Linked DNA regions of Homo sapiens: all the other regions are linked to region 1. Evidence: promoter capture Hi-C in 16 types of primary human blood cells and fetal thymus (Javierre and others, 2016). All regions are on one chromosome and are shown on one strand. The core of a region is centred on a gene start or on the middle of the fragment in contact, and the rest is flanking DNA. Distances in the headings are between cores, read along the strand shown.

What was found. Contacts are between HindIII fragments. The CHiCAGO score rates a contact against its expected background, and 5 or more counts as called.
Region 2: a fragment that was not itself captured here is called in contact with the fragment with the promoter of BID in region 1 in 2 of 17 cell types (neutrophils and monocytes); the score reaches 6.6 in neutrophils.
Region 3: a contact is called between a fragment that was not itself captured here and the fragment with the promoter of BID in region 1, in 1 of 17 cell types (neutrophils). The highest score is 5.4, in neutrophils.
Region 4: a fragment that was not itself captured here is called in contact with the fragment with the promoter of BID in region 1 in 1 of 17 cell types (monocytes); the score reaches 5.6 in monocytes.

What each region holds. Positions count from the first base shown.
Region 1 is chr22:17,772,760-17,776,470 of GRCh38, forward strand. BID (BH3 interacting domain death agonist) reads right to left here and starts at 1,710. Exons shown (of 6, transcript NM_001196.4): 1 at 1,622-1,710. RefSeq lists silencers at 1,219-1,548, 1,579-1,648, 1,669-1,718, 1,739-1,838. The HindIII fragment of the contact is 11,451 bases long and covers 1-3,711 here.
Region 2 is chr22:17,092,062-17,095,772 of GRCh38, forward strand. The region is part of intron 1 of IL17RA (interleukin 17 receptor A); the gene reads left to right. It also overlaps the pseudogene RPL31P62. Among named protein-coding and RNA genes, the nearest start is that of IL17RA, 8.9 kb to the left of the region's middle. The HindIII fragment of the contact is 2,792 bases long and covers 183-2,974 here.
Region 3 is chr22:17,114,877-17,118,587 of GRCh38, forward strand. IL17RA (interleukin 17 receptor A) reads left to right here. Exons shown (of 13, transcript NM_014339.7): 13 at 1-817. It overlaps TMEM121B (transmembrane protein 121B), which reads right to left. Exons shown (of 1, transcript NM_031890.4): 1 at 1,421-3,711. Among named protein-coding and RNA genes, the nearest start is that of TMEM121B, 4.6 kb to the right of the region's middle. The HindIII fragment of the contact is 438 bases long and covers 1,415-1,852 here.
Region 4 is chr22:17,243,219-17,246,929 of GRCh38, forward strand. No RefSeq gene overlaps it. Among named protein-coding and RNA genes, the nearest start is that of CECR3, 22 kb to the right of the region's middle. RefSeq lists enhancers at 271-330, 351-610. The HindIII fragment of the contact is 5,307 bases long and covers 1-3,711 here.

The DNA of each region.
Region 1 (3,711 bases), core at 460-2,959:
CAGCCGAGCCTGTGAGCACCCCTAAGCAAGGCCTCTGAGCTGGGCATGCGACACCCCTTCCCACCCAGGCACCCTCCCCCTAGAATCCCCCATACCACCCTGGGGCCATGCCCCGCTTCCCTCTCTGGCAAGCTCCTGCACAACCTTGAGACCACCTGACAGCCACCGTCTATCCTGCCCAACCTCCTCAGAAGCACTAACAGCACCTCGCCCCAGCCACGGCAGGTCTCTGCACCCCTCGTCTCAGTCACCACTCTCACATCTCATGAACAGAGACACGAGCTGCTTCCTCATGCTCCCTGTGCCCGTCCTGGGAGATCCCTGCCTTTAAACCCCAGCCACGAACTGCTGACCCCGCATTTCCTCTTCCCTCCCTGGGCAAGAGGGGCAGAAGGGGCAGGGACGCACACCCTGGGCCGCAGGCAGAGGCTTGGCCAGGGTCGTCCTCCCGGCAGTGCCTCCCTGGAGCTCTGTCTACCTCAACTCCTGATGCCAGAGGATCCCTCTGCGCTCCCCACACCCTTAAGACCCCAGCTCAGGGAATCTGGTCTCGGTCATCACTCCCAGGGGACTGCAGGGCCCCAGGACGGCACACATTCAGGCCCAGGAGAGCTCCCCCCATCTCAAAGCCTCCTGTGGGTGGAGATGGAATGTGGAAAAACCGCATCCTCTGCAGCTCCCCCACAGTGAGAGCGAGGACTGAGGGTGTGGATAAGGCTCCAGGAAGGGGGTGCAAGCCTGAGAAGGTGGAAGAGCTCTGGGTGGGTCCATCTGCTCCTCACCTGCCCCAACCCTGCCTGCAGGTGAAGGCCGGTCCAGCCGCAGAAGGCCCAGCCCCCAGCCCACTTACAGAATCCGCACTGTGCTCCTCCAGCCGGCCCGGCCCCTCGCTGCCCACCGAGCCATCATGACCCCAGCACCGCTGCACATTCGTATTTGTTGAATGAATGAATGAACCCTTGCCAGCCCAGCCACTTGGTGGCTGAGGGCTTCAGAGCTCTCCCAGGGTCCCCTGGGGTCATTCAGCCACTCAACAGTTTCCCAGCAGCAGCAGCGAGGATCCGCACATCATTGCCAGTGCTCTAAGGAGCGGGCGAGCCCCAGTAAGCGGCCGCTCTGACCGCGCTTTGTCAGCCCTGAGCTCCGCTCGGGAGGAGCCGGCAGGTGTCTGCGGTGCTGGAAAGACCACGGTGTGGGCGGGGATTCCGATCCGCCGGCAAGGGTGGCCTGCACCCGGCCAGGCCCGCGGGTTTTCTCCTCTCCGGGGCTGGCCTCGGCCCCTCCCCCTCCCCGCGCCCCGCACCCCTCCCCTGAATCCCCAGGCCACGTGGAGAGGACACAACAAAGCCTTCCCCGCCTCCGAGGCGGACCCGACCCTCAGCACCGACCTGCCGGCCGCGCCGAGGAGGGCGCCCGGGCGGAGGGGAGGCGGGAGAGACCCGGCCCTCAGGTCGCTGCTGAGGCCTGGGGCTCTGACCCCCCGCCTCCCCTCCTCTGGCTCCCACCGCGGTCGGGCCCAGGGCGGGCGGCGGGCCCTGAGCTCCACGCCGGGGCAGGCGGCAGGCAGGGGTCACGGGCTGGGGCTCGGCGCGTACCCCGGGAGGGGCGCGGGTGCACTCACCACCCTCCAGCCGCGGGGGCGCGGGCGCGTCCGGGCCGAGGCAGCGTCTCCCAGGCGCGCGGACACGGTCGACTACCCGCTTCCTCCTTATGGCGCCCCGCGCGCTTCCTCCTTCGGCCCCCCACGCCCGGGCCCGCCCCGGCCCGCCCCGGCCCGCCCCCGGCGGCTTGCGGGGACCCGGGGAGCCCGCGCCGGCGCGGGGCTGTGGAGCGGGGCGGGGAGCCGGCAGCGCAGTGAGAACCAGGCTTTCCACCCTTACCCCTTACGCGACTGTTTCAGACAGTGTCGTCCAACTTTAAGTTGGCCACTTACTCCAGCGCCGCTGGGATAATTCCTAATGATTCTCTGGGAAACATTCAGAATCCCCAGGCTGTTTCTGGAACAGTCTGGGGTGGTCATTCTAGGTCCTCACGGAACCAGGGGTTTGGAAAGTGGGTGAAGCCATGTGGGTTGCAGAGAATCTGGCCCAGCCCCTCACCAGTCCCTGTGCTTGTTGTTTATTCTTTAATTATTTGGATATCAACTCTGATTTAAAACATCAGTTTAACATATAGATAATGCTGGGACTACAGGCGCACACCACACCCAACTAATTTCTTTTTCAGTTTTTAGTGGAGGTGGTGGGGGGGGGGTCTCCACCTCTGGAGGTCTCAGGCTGGTCTCGAACTCCTGGGCTCCAGCGATGCTTCCCACCTCGGCCTCCCAAGGTGCTGGAATGACAGGCCAGTCCATGCATCCCCGGATGCAGCTCTCACCGGCAGTGCTGCTGCAGAGCCCTTTGTGGGCGTCTTCACTTCTCTTGAGTGTGATACCTAGGAGTGGAAATGCGAATCATAGGGCTGGACGAGCTTCATGGTATTAAAAACTGCCTGCTTTCCAAGGTGATGCACACCGTTCGGCACTTCCACCAGCCCTGTTGGAGCGTCCAGTTGCTCTGCGCCCTCGCGTGGGCTCACTCCCTGAGCCCACTGTGGCTCCTCCAGACGCCCTCACTTCTACCCGGGCTCCCTAGACTCTTGCCTCTTTTATAAAAGGTCAGAGGATGTCACTCACGCTTTAACATCCTCTGAATAAAAGCCAAGTTCCTTTCAGTGGCCCGCAGAGTCCCACGCGACCTGCCCTGCTCTAAGCAAATCCTACCCTGTCCCTGTTCCTCCTCGGCAGCCCCATGGCCTCTGGCTTTCACCAGGCCTCACTTCATTTTCCTCCACAGCCAGCATCGCAGCATGACATACCACGGAGTCGTTTGTGTGTGTGTTGCCTACCTCCCCTCTCGGAATGTAGCCTCCACGAGGACAGGGGCTTGTTTCCTGCATGCTCTTCACTCGGGCTGGGCACTCTGGGGGGCTAACAAATGGAAGATCCTGTGAGCAGGGAAACCGTCAGATGGCATTAGGGGCCGGTGCCCTGCAGAAGACGAAAGGGAAACTTCATGGACTGAGGCCAGGTCATCTGCAGGGTGGTGTTCAAATTCATGGTACAATGTCAGCAGGCGCCCAGATGGGAAAAGAGAGGGACGTGCACCTGGGCACAAGAAGCTGCAGGGGCCCCTCCCAGGGCAGGCGAGAGCTTGGACAGTGGGGCACAGTGGGCAAGAGGCCAGTGGGGTGGCCTGAAGGCAGGAGGCTCCAGCAGCCTGGATGAGCAGTTGGATTTTATCCTCAGCACTGTGGGGGCCACTGGCCCTGTCATGCAGGGCAGGACCTGTACCAATTGGCCCCCACAGTCTCTGCCTCTCCTGTTGGCTTTTTGCAGGTCTCTCAAGTGCTTCTTACAGTCAGGGTAGAGCCTCCCCGCCTCAATCCTCCCTGTCCTGATCTGCTGCCTCTATGATGCTTTGGGCTTCAAAATCTGTCTGCAGTATTTGTAAAATGAGAGAGGGTGATGTTTCCTGCAAAACAACCACTTCAAAAAGAAAGGGGGGCGGGGTGCCAGAAAACAATTCAGGGGGTGACGGACTGGGGGGCTATGGAAGGGTCCAGGGAAATTCCGGGGATGATGGGATTCTTCTATACAGGGATTGTGGTGGATGCCACACAATTGTACACTTTTGTGAGAACTCTGCACGAAGAATGGTGAGTTTTACTGTA
Region 2 (3,711 bases), core at 329-2,828, 680 kb before region 1:
CCCCTTTACCCATCACATCTGGGAAGGGGAGAGGGAACTGAAGGCCCCCTGAAGTTGCAATGGCCAGTGGTTTAATCAGTCATGCTCACATGAAGCCTCCATAAAAACGGGGTTCAGAGAGCTTCCAGGTAGTGGAACATGTGGAGGTTCCTGGAGGGTGGCACACCTGAGGAGGGCATGGAAGCTTTGTACTCCTTCTCCTATACCTCACCTTTTCTTCTGTATTATTTGTGATATCCTTAAAATAAACTGGGAAATGTGTTTCCCTGAGTTCTCTGAGCAGCTTTAGCAAATTAATTGAACTGAAAGAGAGGAGCATGAGAATCTCACGTTGAACCCGGTTGGTCTTAGAAGTTCTGGAGGCCCAGACTTACCACTGGTGTCTAGGGGGTGGGCGGTCTTGGGGACTGAGCACTCAACCTGTGGGATCTGATGCTATCTCCAAATAGTGTCAGAATTAAATTGGAGGATACCCAGCTGGTGTCTGCTGCCGAATTGATTGCTTGCTTGGTGGTGGGAAGAAACCACCCCCCGCCAATATGTAGTCACAGAAGTCTTCTGTGACTTCTGTTGATTGTTGTGGTGATGTGAGGGCAGAGGAAAAATACAGCTTGAGTTTTTCCACACTCTCGGGGAATATGTGTCCTTCTCTTCCAGAATATTTTCTTTCTTTCCTTTTTTAAAAAATAACTTCTTCCTTCTGTTTTTTTGTTAATCTCCTTCTAGAAATCTAGTCAATCATATTTTGTTTCCTAAATTGAATCTCTAATGATCATATATTTTTTCCTATTCTATTTGTGCTTTCAGAGAAATGTCCTCAATTTCATAGACTAACCCTTCTATTGAATTTTTATTTAGTAGAACTTCTATTGAGTTTCAAGGTTCAGTTTTCATTCTCTGCCTGCTCATTTGTCCATGGTGTCCTGCCCCTGTCTTACAGATGCAGTGTTGTATCTCTTCGGGGCTATAATAATTTTACTTGTTTGGTTTAATTGTGTTAACAGCATTGTTTTTTTTTTCCTTCCAGGAGCATTTTTTAATTGTTTTGATCTATTTTTCATACAGAAAACCTATCTCAAATATCTGGTACTCCTTGGCTGTCTGAGAATATTTTAAGAATGAAGTCCTAAAAGCTGATTAAATGCTCTGTGTAGTTAAGGTTTATTGAACATTGGACTTCACTGTATAGGAGGTCAAGCTAATCGTGAACCTGGCCTATTGGGTGACCTCCAAATGCTGAAATCTGGAGGTGTTTTTTTTGGGCCTGGCTGCCAGCATTCTGAGATCAGAGCACGGAAAGAGAGGATAAGGTTCCCAACACTCCATATGTAGACCTTCACTTAATTCTCCCTGCCCCTAAGCCCTGAACGTTATAAGGTTCTGAGGGGCCCCTGGCCTCCTTATCAATAACTCCCTTTTGTAGCATTCAGACAGAAGTTCCTCCACTCAGCACAAGCCAGCTGCCTACTCTGCTGCCACTTGGACAGTTATTTATTTATTCATTCATTTGTTCATTTTTGAGGTTTTATAATTTTATTTGACATCAACAGTTTGTTCTCATCCACAATGTCTGACTGTCAGTTTCTGAAAGTGGTAATGGGTACACAGGTAACCAAAGTATAGAGCTTGCTTGGTGAATCTTCATCCTCATGCTTTCTGGACAGCTGCACATGGACACAGTATGGAACGTTCCTTATTCCTTTGGTCCAGACAGCTTTGTTGAGCCTGGTGTTAGCATATCTGGAGTCCCCATCTCCTTCATGGCAAAGTTCTGGGACTTTTTGAGTGACCAAGGGGCACACTGCTTGACGTCCCCTCCATGGGTGTGCTTGTGGATGCTGATGGCATATTCTGGTGTCACCACCTCATTGGTGGCAGGTGACAGAATAGCCCTTTTATTTTATTTTATCTTACTTTATTTTATTTTATTTTATTTTATTTAGACAGAGTCTCGCTCTGTCGCCCAGGATAGAGTACAGTGGCACAGTCTTGGCTCACTGAAGCCTCTGCCTCCCAGGTTCAAGCAATTCTCCCACCTCAGCCTCTCAAATAGCTGGGACTACAGGCACATGCCACCACACCCAGCTAATTTTTGTATTTTTAGTAGAGACAGGGTTTCACCATCTCTTGGCCAGGCTGGTCTTAAACTCCTGACTTCAGGTGATCCACCTACCTCAGCCTCCCAAAAGTGCTGGGATTACACGCATGAGCCACTGCGCCCAGCCAACACTCTTCTTTACAGGAGCTATGCTGCTGGGGCCAAGTTGGAAAGGACTTTTAAAATTTTGTTCACATCTTTTGTCCACTGAGTTTGGCTCTTTGAGTTTGAGAATTTACAAAAAAAAATGTTCTTTCCTATAATTGTTATATTGTTTGGAGAGAGGGAGAAAATATGTGTATATGGTCAATGCGCTATTACCTCTAATAGAATTGTTATTCTATATTTCACCTATATGTATATTTTTCAGTTTTGATTAAATCTTTTTTCCCCTTATCTTCCCTCATGCCATCTCCTCTGCTTGTGTGCCCTTTGCCCCCAGCAAACTGTGTTAACACCTGTTAACATGTTTCTATTCTCATTTAGTCATACACACACTCTCTCTCTCTCTCTCTCTCTCTCTCTCTCTCTCTATATATATATATATATATATATATATTCAGGGAGATCTTTTTCATGACTTATTTCCATAGAAATTGGGATCATACTATAAAAAGTTATTTGAAACTTATTTTCCTCTCTCATCAACACATTCCAGCCATCTGCAGGTCAACAGATGTCTATGCAACTAATTCTCATTCTCTTTAATATTTGCATAATATTCCATAGTAGATAGCAATCTATTCAACCATTTCTAGTTTGATGGACATTTAGATTTAAACTAGATCTCACCTTAATTCAGCCATTCTCTATTGATGACCATTCAGTACCACAGAAAAAGAGGGAAAGCTGTCCATTTTTTTTAAAGCTAGTATAAGCTTAATTCTAAAACTTGACAAATCTTATACAAAAAGAAAAACTATGGACCAATCTCATTTATGAACATAAATCCATGCAATTCTAAATAAAATATTAGCAAATGTAATCTAGCAGAATATCAAAAGAACAATGCACCATAATCTAGTGGTGCATTAACAAACTTTGTTTGTTAATCAGTGCTGGAGAGGTATATGATGAGGTTCAGAGCTGTTTTGAATGAAAACTATAAACCTAATAGTAACTGAAGGAAAAGACTTATATGCAACCACAACTATCAGAAACCAAGACCAAAAACAGTATTCCATAGGGCATACCAAACTATTTCCCTCCATCTCGGGAATGAGAGGACACCTGCCTGCACCACTGGGAATCAACCAAGTGTGTTGTCAGACCCTTCCACTTTCCTTGTGGTCTTCATGAAGACAAGAGCTTTTCATCATGGGCATCATCCTGCAGTGTTATTGAGTAGCTCCCAGTGGCTAGTAGGAAGTTACTCCAAATGATGTATCTGTTTGCCTTCTCTAGAAGAGTTCCCCATCTCAAGGTGAAATAACCGCTTTTTTTTTATCCTCCACATCCTAGGAATTTTAAGGGAGAGGAAAAATGAGAGGACTCAGGGGAGTTAATCTTCTCGCCATTTAGGAAAGAGTGACATTTATTAGTGTGAGCCTAGGCAGCCAGATGGATTTTGTTGGGAACATGTGCGGAGCCCCCTAGTGGGGTGGTGATGCTAG
Region 3 (3,711 bases), core at 384-2,883, 660 kb before region 1:
ACCTCCTCTTTCTCGGCCTCAGGAAAATGGAGAGAAAGCAGCCCTGAAGGTGGCTGTGACGAGGGAAGGGGCAGAGGGCCTGACAGTCAACCACGCGCTATATTTTCCTGTTCTTCCTTAGGGCAAGAACTGCATGGCCAGACTCAGGCAAGGCCTAGGTGTGGGCTGGGCATTGCCTACACGTGAAGAGATCACTCCGCGTCCCTACTGCACCTGTCACAAAGTGCCTTCTGATATGCCTGGCAAACCAAAATCGGTGAGCGCCAGCTTGCTTCCCTAGAAGACATTTCTAAATATTCATAACATGCTTGCTCAAATCAATCACCTTATTTTACATCCGCTCCAGGGAGAAATGAAGACATGGTCCTACGTTGTTCTGTAATTATTTTCTATGTAAATTTTGTTCCTTGTTACAATTATATATGTCTTAGGGGAAAGGACCATTTCACATGTGTCACCTCATGTGATTCTCACCACAGCCCTGTGATTGCTCCTGTTTTATAAATAATGACATAGTTCCAGTTGATGGCCAAAGCCACAGCTAACGAGAGGCAGAGAGAGCTCAGGCTCCCAGGAGCTTCCACTCTCAGACCTTGCCTCCCGGGCTGCCCTGAGTGAAACGCCTGCTTAGCATTTGGCACAGCCAGAAGCAGCAAGCTAGGGTCACAACACAGAGAGGGGCTGTGTAATACTGGCTGCCTCTGTGCTAAGAAAAAAAAAAAATCACTGTGTGTTTGTTTATTTTGGTGCAGGCCCAGTGTTCTTGCTTAGACTTAATACTACCCTTCATGTTAAAATAAAACCAAACAAAAACCCATGGCCTTGTTCTTCTTATTCATACGTAAGAATTTGTGCTTCTGGCTGGGGCAAGAGTGATAGAGGAGGGCACAGTATTTAAAAATTAGTTTCTCAAGATGTTCCCCCTTTGGAAAGCTACTCTTTTAGAAAGAAATGGGAAGCCGGGCGTGGTGGCACACTTCTGTAGTCCCAGCTACTTGGGAGGCTGAGGCAGGAGGATTGTTTGAGCCCAGGAGGTTGAGGCTGCAGTGAACTATGATGGCGCCACTGCACTCCAGCCCAGGTGACAGAGTGAGACCCTGTCTCAAAAACAAAGAAAAAGAAAGAAGGAAGGAAAGAAAAGTGAGAGAGAGCCGAGGGTGATGAGAAAAAATCGTTCTCAGGCTGAGTCCATTAGAGCTGAGCTGGCTGTGCCAACAAAGCATGTCAAGACACTCACCAGCTCCAGGCCACAGCTTCACTGCCTCCCTGAAAAACATGCCAACTGCCTAGAAGGGCCAAGGTGTACCCATAATGTTAACACAAACTTATAAAATAATGGCGAATGTCACAGTGACATTTAAGAATTTTGTAAGGAAACCAGGACAGAAAAGATCTTAAAACAAACCACACAGGAAGCTTGTCACAAGTCTCAAGTTTTTTATTTTCAGAACAGAGTCTGGTTTTATTTTTAAAAAGAGAAGGAAAAAAGTGATAAATGCTAGTGAGGTGCCACTTCCCTCCTTCTTCCAGGCTCTAACCGCCAGCTAGCTCTCTTTCACAAAACCCACGGATGCAGAATCAGGACATGTTAAAATGGAACAGTCTTTAGAGAGGGTCTAGTCTTTTTAAAATAAGTAAGGATTTGGGGACTAACAGAGAGGAAGCCCCTGACTTGCTGAATTGTTAGGAGCAGGCGGTTCTCGAGATTCTGAGCCCAGGATCCTTTTCTGTGAACCATGCACGTGCTGGCACTGGCCTCAGGAGACAGTGCCCTGCCTTGGCTGTCAGGTCCACGGAGAAATCTCAGGTTTGCCCCTTCACTAGGGATGCCCTAGAAAGCAAGGGCAAAGGAAGCTTTAGGGGTCATCGTGACTGGGGCAGGGGAAGTGAGTGCAAGGACTCAAGAAAAACACAGCAGAGGAAGGGACTGACCCTCTGAGCACACAGTGGTTGACCCACATGTGTAAAAGAGGGTGACTGGGGCTGAACTGGGGGCCTGATATCTGCCAGAATTGGCCAAGTTGCCATCAGCTTCTTGACATATCCAGGGAAGTGGCAGCTCATTGGAACTTATCACAGCCTCCCACCAAAAACCTAACAAACAGTACAGAGATTTTACAGTCAGGGAGGCCCAGCAGGAGATGGCCATCCAAACAATAGAAGGGGGGCAGATCAGGGGGCCAGCCAGCGGCTGGCCATGGCTCAGACACAATGTCCTTTCACAGTCACTGAGATTAGGTAGCAGAGAAACACAGCAAAGCTGGAGAGAGGACATGGGAACAGCGAGCAGCTGTTGGTACCCACCCAGGGCCCAGGCCCCAGAACCTTGAGTACAATCAAAGGGAGAGGAGAGGAGTCAGTGGGGGCAGGGGAAGAAGGCAGAAAAAAATACCAATTAAGTGTGAAATCCAGCCAGCTATTGGGCCACATAGGGTGAGGGACTGGAAGCACAGATTGTGCATGGAGTGTAAACATTTTCCCCCGCTGTTCCCTGCTCTGAGAGCATGAGGAGGCTCAAGAGAACTCTGGTCAAGCCTTCTGCCCCTCTTATGTCTGTCTACAAGGGTGTCTTCTGCTCCAAGCCCCCAAAACAGTTGTAAGAGGGGGCTTCAAGTGGGAGGCGGGGGCTTGGCCTGGGTGCTGAGTTAACGGCCAGTGACTTGGCACTTCTGACCCTCCCTGTGCACTCTGCAGCTGTGCCAGGCCCTGCCCCACACCCAGCCCAGGCACCCAAGCCCTCCCTCCGGCCTTCTCTGCTGGGGCTTCACACACCCAGTACAGAGCAGGGAATGTTCTGCAAGTGCAGCCTGGCTGGCTTCTCTCCCAGCCACCTTTACAGGGAGCATCAGGACCAGGGCTTTCAAGAGCCACAAACTCAAAAGAATGTGAGAGCTGAAATTACCTTCAACCTTAGAGATCACTCATCTAACTTCTACTTTTTTAATGTGAGAAAACAGGCCCAGGAAATAAAAATATGTCACTCAAAGCCAATGAGTGACAGAATCAGAACTAGAATCCACATCTTCTGGTAACTCGTCTAGAGTTTGTTACACTACATAAAACTTCCCAAACGTAAGAAGGGAGAAGGGGAAACAAAAATTCTTCAAGTTTCACCCCCACCACATCCTGTTGAGGGTGGAGGGAAGTGAGTATTTCCTGGCCTTGTTAGCTGCTGTCCTCCTGCACCCTTAAAATATGTAAAAATACTTATCCTGCCTCAAAGACTGCAAGAGTGACATTCCACACCGACTGTAAGTGCACAGTCCCCGGATGTCTCTTGTCATCACCCTCAATGAGAGGAAGAGGGAAAGTTCTGCAGCCTGCCTTGGCCCTAGTGAGACTCTTAACCAGACCAGAGGTGGGAGGTCACCACCTCACTTTCTGATCTACACTTCCTAGAGGAAGGACAGGTGGGGAATGGGGCTTCCTACTCCCTTGGGCCCATGGGAGGCCCAACTTCACATCCATCCAGGAAACCCACCAAAGCTATTACTCTAAGCCCAGATCCGACCCAGTCGGCACCAAACCACAGGAAGGATAAGAGTTCTAGGTGCAGAGGGAGGAACAGAGAGAGGCCAAGCCAATGGCTGATACTCCGCAGACCCTGTAATAACACTGGCACCAAACCCCAGCTGGAGCCAGTGGCCATGGCAAATGCAACTTCTGAGTATTTTGTCTTCATTTTTTGCAAGCAGCATCAGTGCATGATGC
Region 4 (3,711 bases), core at 502-3,001, 530 kb before region 1:
AATCACTTAGACTGAGGCATTCATCAGCCTGAGCCATTGTTCACGCTGCAGACTTTCTGTTCAAAATGGTAAAAGCCAGTCCGAGGCTGGGCACGGTGGCTCACGCCTGTAATCCCAACATTTTGGGAGGCCGAGGCGGGCGGATCACATGAGGTTGGGAGTTCGAGACCAGCCTGACCAACATGGAGAAACCCTGTCTCTACTAAAAATACAAAATTAGCCGGGCGTGGTGACGCGTGCCTGTAATCCCAGCTACTCAGGAAGGCTGAGGAAGGAAAATCTCTTGAACCCAGGAGGCAGAGGTTGCAATGAGCTGAGATCACGCCATTGCACTCTAGCATGGTCAACAAGAGCTAAACTCCGTCTCAAAAAAAAAAAAAAAAAAAAGCCAGTCCAAAAGCCTCAGTCACAGGGATGACTCAGGACCTTGAGTTTCATTTCATGTTTCTAATGTCATGAGACAACCGTGGGCCTCGCCCTGCTCAGCAGAGTCCTACCCCCCACTTTCTCCACACAGCTTCCCCTACTCAGGGTACATGAAAAAGGGGTTCCCCACCACAACTCTATGGCCACACCCCAGGGGGCAAGTTCAACCAACAGGCCAGGCGAATGAGCCCCATCTGTGCCCCATTCCCACCTGATCGGACCCCACAGCCCTTTGGGAGCACTCAGATACTGGTGAGAATGCCCCTGTTTGCTTGGGGGGCCCGTGGCTACTTATTGACGGCACAGGGCATCTGTTGAGAAGATGCAGGCAGGGGAGGGAAGGAGAGAAAGACAAGAGGAGCCTATGCAATTGGCGAGAGACACAGAGGACAGAGAACATGGGGAACTGAGGACTAGAACGGATTTCTGGCCTGACCCGTTCTGGGGGACTCCTTTTAGACCAGGGGTCTGTGTTGGCCCGTGAGTGCAGCTGGGCTCTCTCCACCTCTTTTCAGCCTCCTCTGCCACTCTGAAAGGCCCCAGGTTTTATTCCCGGTTCACATTGCCGCACCCATAACCCAGGGAATGTGGCAGCCCCTGCTGGGGTTTCACAGGCGTGCAGAGGGTGCCTCTGGGTAGGGCTTCATTCCTCTATGGGCAGGAGTCCCTGGGCACTGACCACGCCCTAGTGACAGCCAGAGTGCCTTCATTCCAAGTGCTATATTAGCAGTATCTTAAAAACCTGTCTGAGCCGGGCGCGGTGGCTCACACCTGTAATCCCAGCACTTTGGGAGGCTGAGGTGGGCGGATCACGAGGTCAGGAGATCGAGACCATCCTGGCTAACACGGTGAAACCCCATCTCTACTAAAAGTGCAAAAAATTAGCTGGGCGTGGTGGCAGGCGCCTGTAGTCCCAGCTACTTGGGAGGCTGAGGCAGGAGAATGGCGTGAACCCGGGAGGCGGAGCTTGCAGTGAGCCGAGATCGCGCCACTTCACTCCAGCCTGGGCAACAGAGCAAGACTCCGTCTCAACAAAAAAAAAAACCTGTCTGAAACAAGTACGTGAGAATTCACTTCTTCTTCTTTTTTTTTTTTTTGAGATGGAGTTTCGCTCTTGTTGCCCAGGCTGGAGTGCAATGGCACGATCTCAGCTCAACACAACCTCTGACACCCAGGTTCAAGTGATTCTCCTGCCTCAGCCTCCTGACTAGCTGGGATTATAGGTATGCATCACCATGCTGGGCTAATTTTGTACTTTTAGTAGAGACGGGGTTTCTCCATGTTAGTCAGGCTGTTCTTGAACTCCCACCTTCAGATGATCCACCCGCCTTGGCCTCCCAAAGTGCTGGGATTACAGGCGTGGCTACCTCGCCCAGCCGAGAATTCACTTTTGCTGAGAAAGTAATGGAGGTCCCACGGCCATTTTAGGAGCAACATTTGTTGGGGTGGAGTGGAGATCGGTAGTGCAAAATTGACCCTCCTAGATTACCCAAGAAAAATGAGCCCAAATCTGAACTTCTGAAGACACAACTTGAATTCACCACCTTTTTAAAATCTTTTTTTTTTTTGAGACAGAGTCTAGCTCTGTCGCCCAGACTGGAGTGCAGTGGCGCGACCTCGGCTCACTGCAAGCTCCACCTCATTTAGTTCAGGTACTAAACGGGTCACTGGGCTTAGTGGCAAGAGTTCCTAATGAGAAATACTACTTGAGGACTTACATTGTGCCAGATGCTTTACATGTGTGGCATCATTTAATCTTCCAGATATTATAACCATTGTCATTGTAGAGATGAGAAAACTGAGTCCTGAAAAGCTGACTAGTCTGGGGACATCACTTGTTCAAGGTCACATGGCTAGTCGTTGAGGAAAGCAGAATTGAACTCAGGTGACTCCATGGCCCATGTATGAACCACTGGGCCACACTCCCTCACTTATAAGCTGATGTTGTCAGTTCTCACTATCAGCAGGGTTGGTGCCTCTACAAAACCACAATCAGGAAGGGAGAAAGGCCTTAGGAATAATATTCTAGGCCTTCGACTACAAACTACAGCCTGCAGGACAAATTTTTTTCAACTTTATTGAGGCATTTTTTTTTTTTTTTGAGATGGAGTCTCGCTCTGTCGCCCAGGCTGGAGTGCAGTGGCGCGATCTTGGCTCACTGCAACCTCCGCCTCCCAGGTTCAAGCAATTCTCCTGCCTCAGCCTCCCGAGTAGCTGGGACTACAGGCACGCACCACCACACCCGGCTAATTTTTGTATTTTTAGTAGAGATGGGGTTTCACCATTTTGGTCAGGCTGGTCTCGAACTCCTGACCTTGTGATCCGCCTGCCTCGGCCTCCCAAAGTGCTGGGATTATAGGCATGAGCCACCGCGCCTGGCTGAGGCATATTTTATATATATAATTCATCCCTTTCAAGTGTACAATTCAATAATTTTAGTCAATTTACCAAACTGCACAGCCATTACCTTAATACATTTTAGAACATTACCAGTAAGACCATACTTTCAGGGATATCACTTCTAGAGTTTATTATAGAACACTGTCAGTATCCCAAAAGGATCCCTCATGCACACCTACCTGGAGGTCAAAATAGAACCTTCAGATGTTGTGCTTGGTCCACCATATTTAGAATATTCTTTTGATGGCTGGGAGGAGTGGCTCAAATCTGTAATCCCAGCACTTTGGGAGGCCGAAGCAGGCGGATCACATGAGGTCGGGAGTTCGAGACCAGCCTGACCAACGTGGTGAAACCCCATCTCTACTAAAAATACAAAAATTAGCCAGGTGTGGTGGCACATGTCTGTAATCCCAGCTACTCTGGAGGCTGAGGCAGGAGAATCACTTGAACCCGGGAGGCTGAGATTACAGTGAGCCGAGATCACGCCACTGCACTCCAGCCTGGGTGACACAGCAAAACCCCGTCTCAAAATAAAATAAAATATTATTTTGAATTTTTTGCTAGCTTTAAAAAAAGGAGACAACATCACATAGTATTAAAATTTTTAAATTCTCCTAGAAAAAAAAATCAGAATATTGGGCAAAAGGGGACTCTTCTTCATACAAGGCAAAACCAGTAGCTGCCCCCTTTAGACAGAGCTGGTGCTCTCGGGTCCACTCCATAAAATCAGTAAGAGGGTGCAAGTGGGGTCCCCAGAACCATGGCCTTCTAGCCTCCAGCCCAGACCCTTGGTTCCACAGCTCTTGGCAGATGGCAGAGCAGTCACGGCACTTTGTTATTAGAAAAAGCAAGTGCTGCCGGGTGCCGTGGCTCACGCCTGTAATC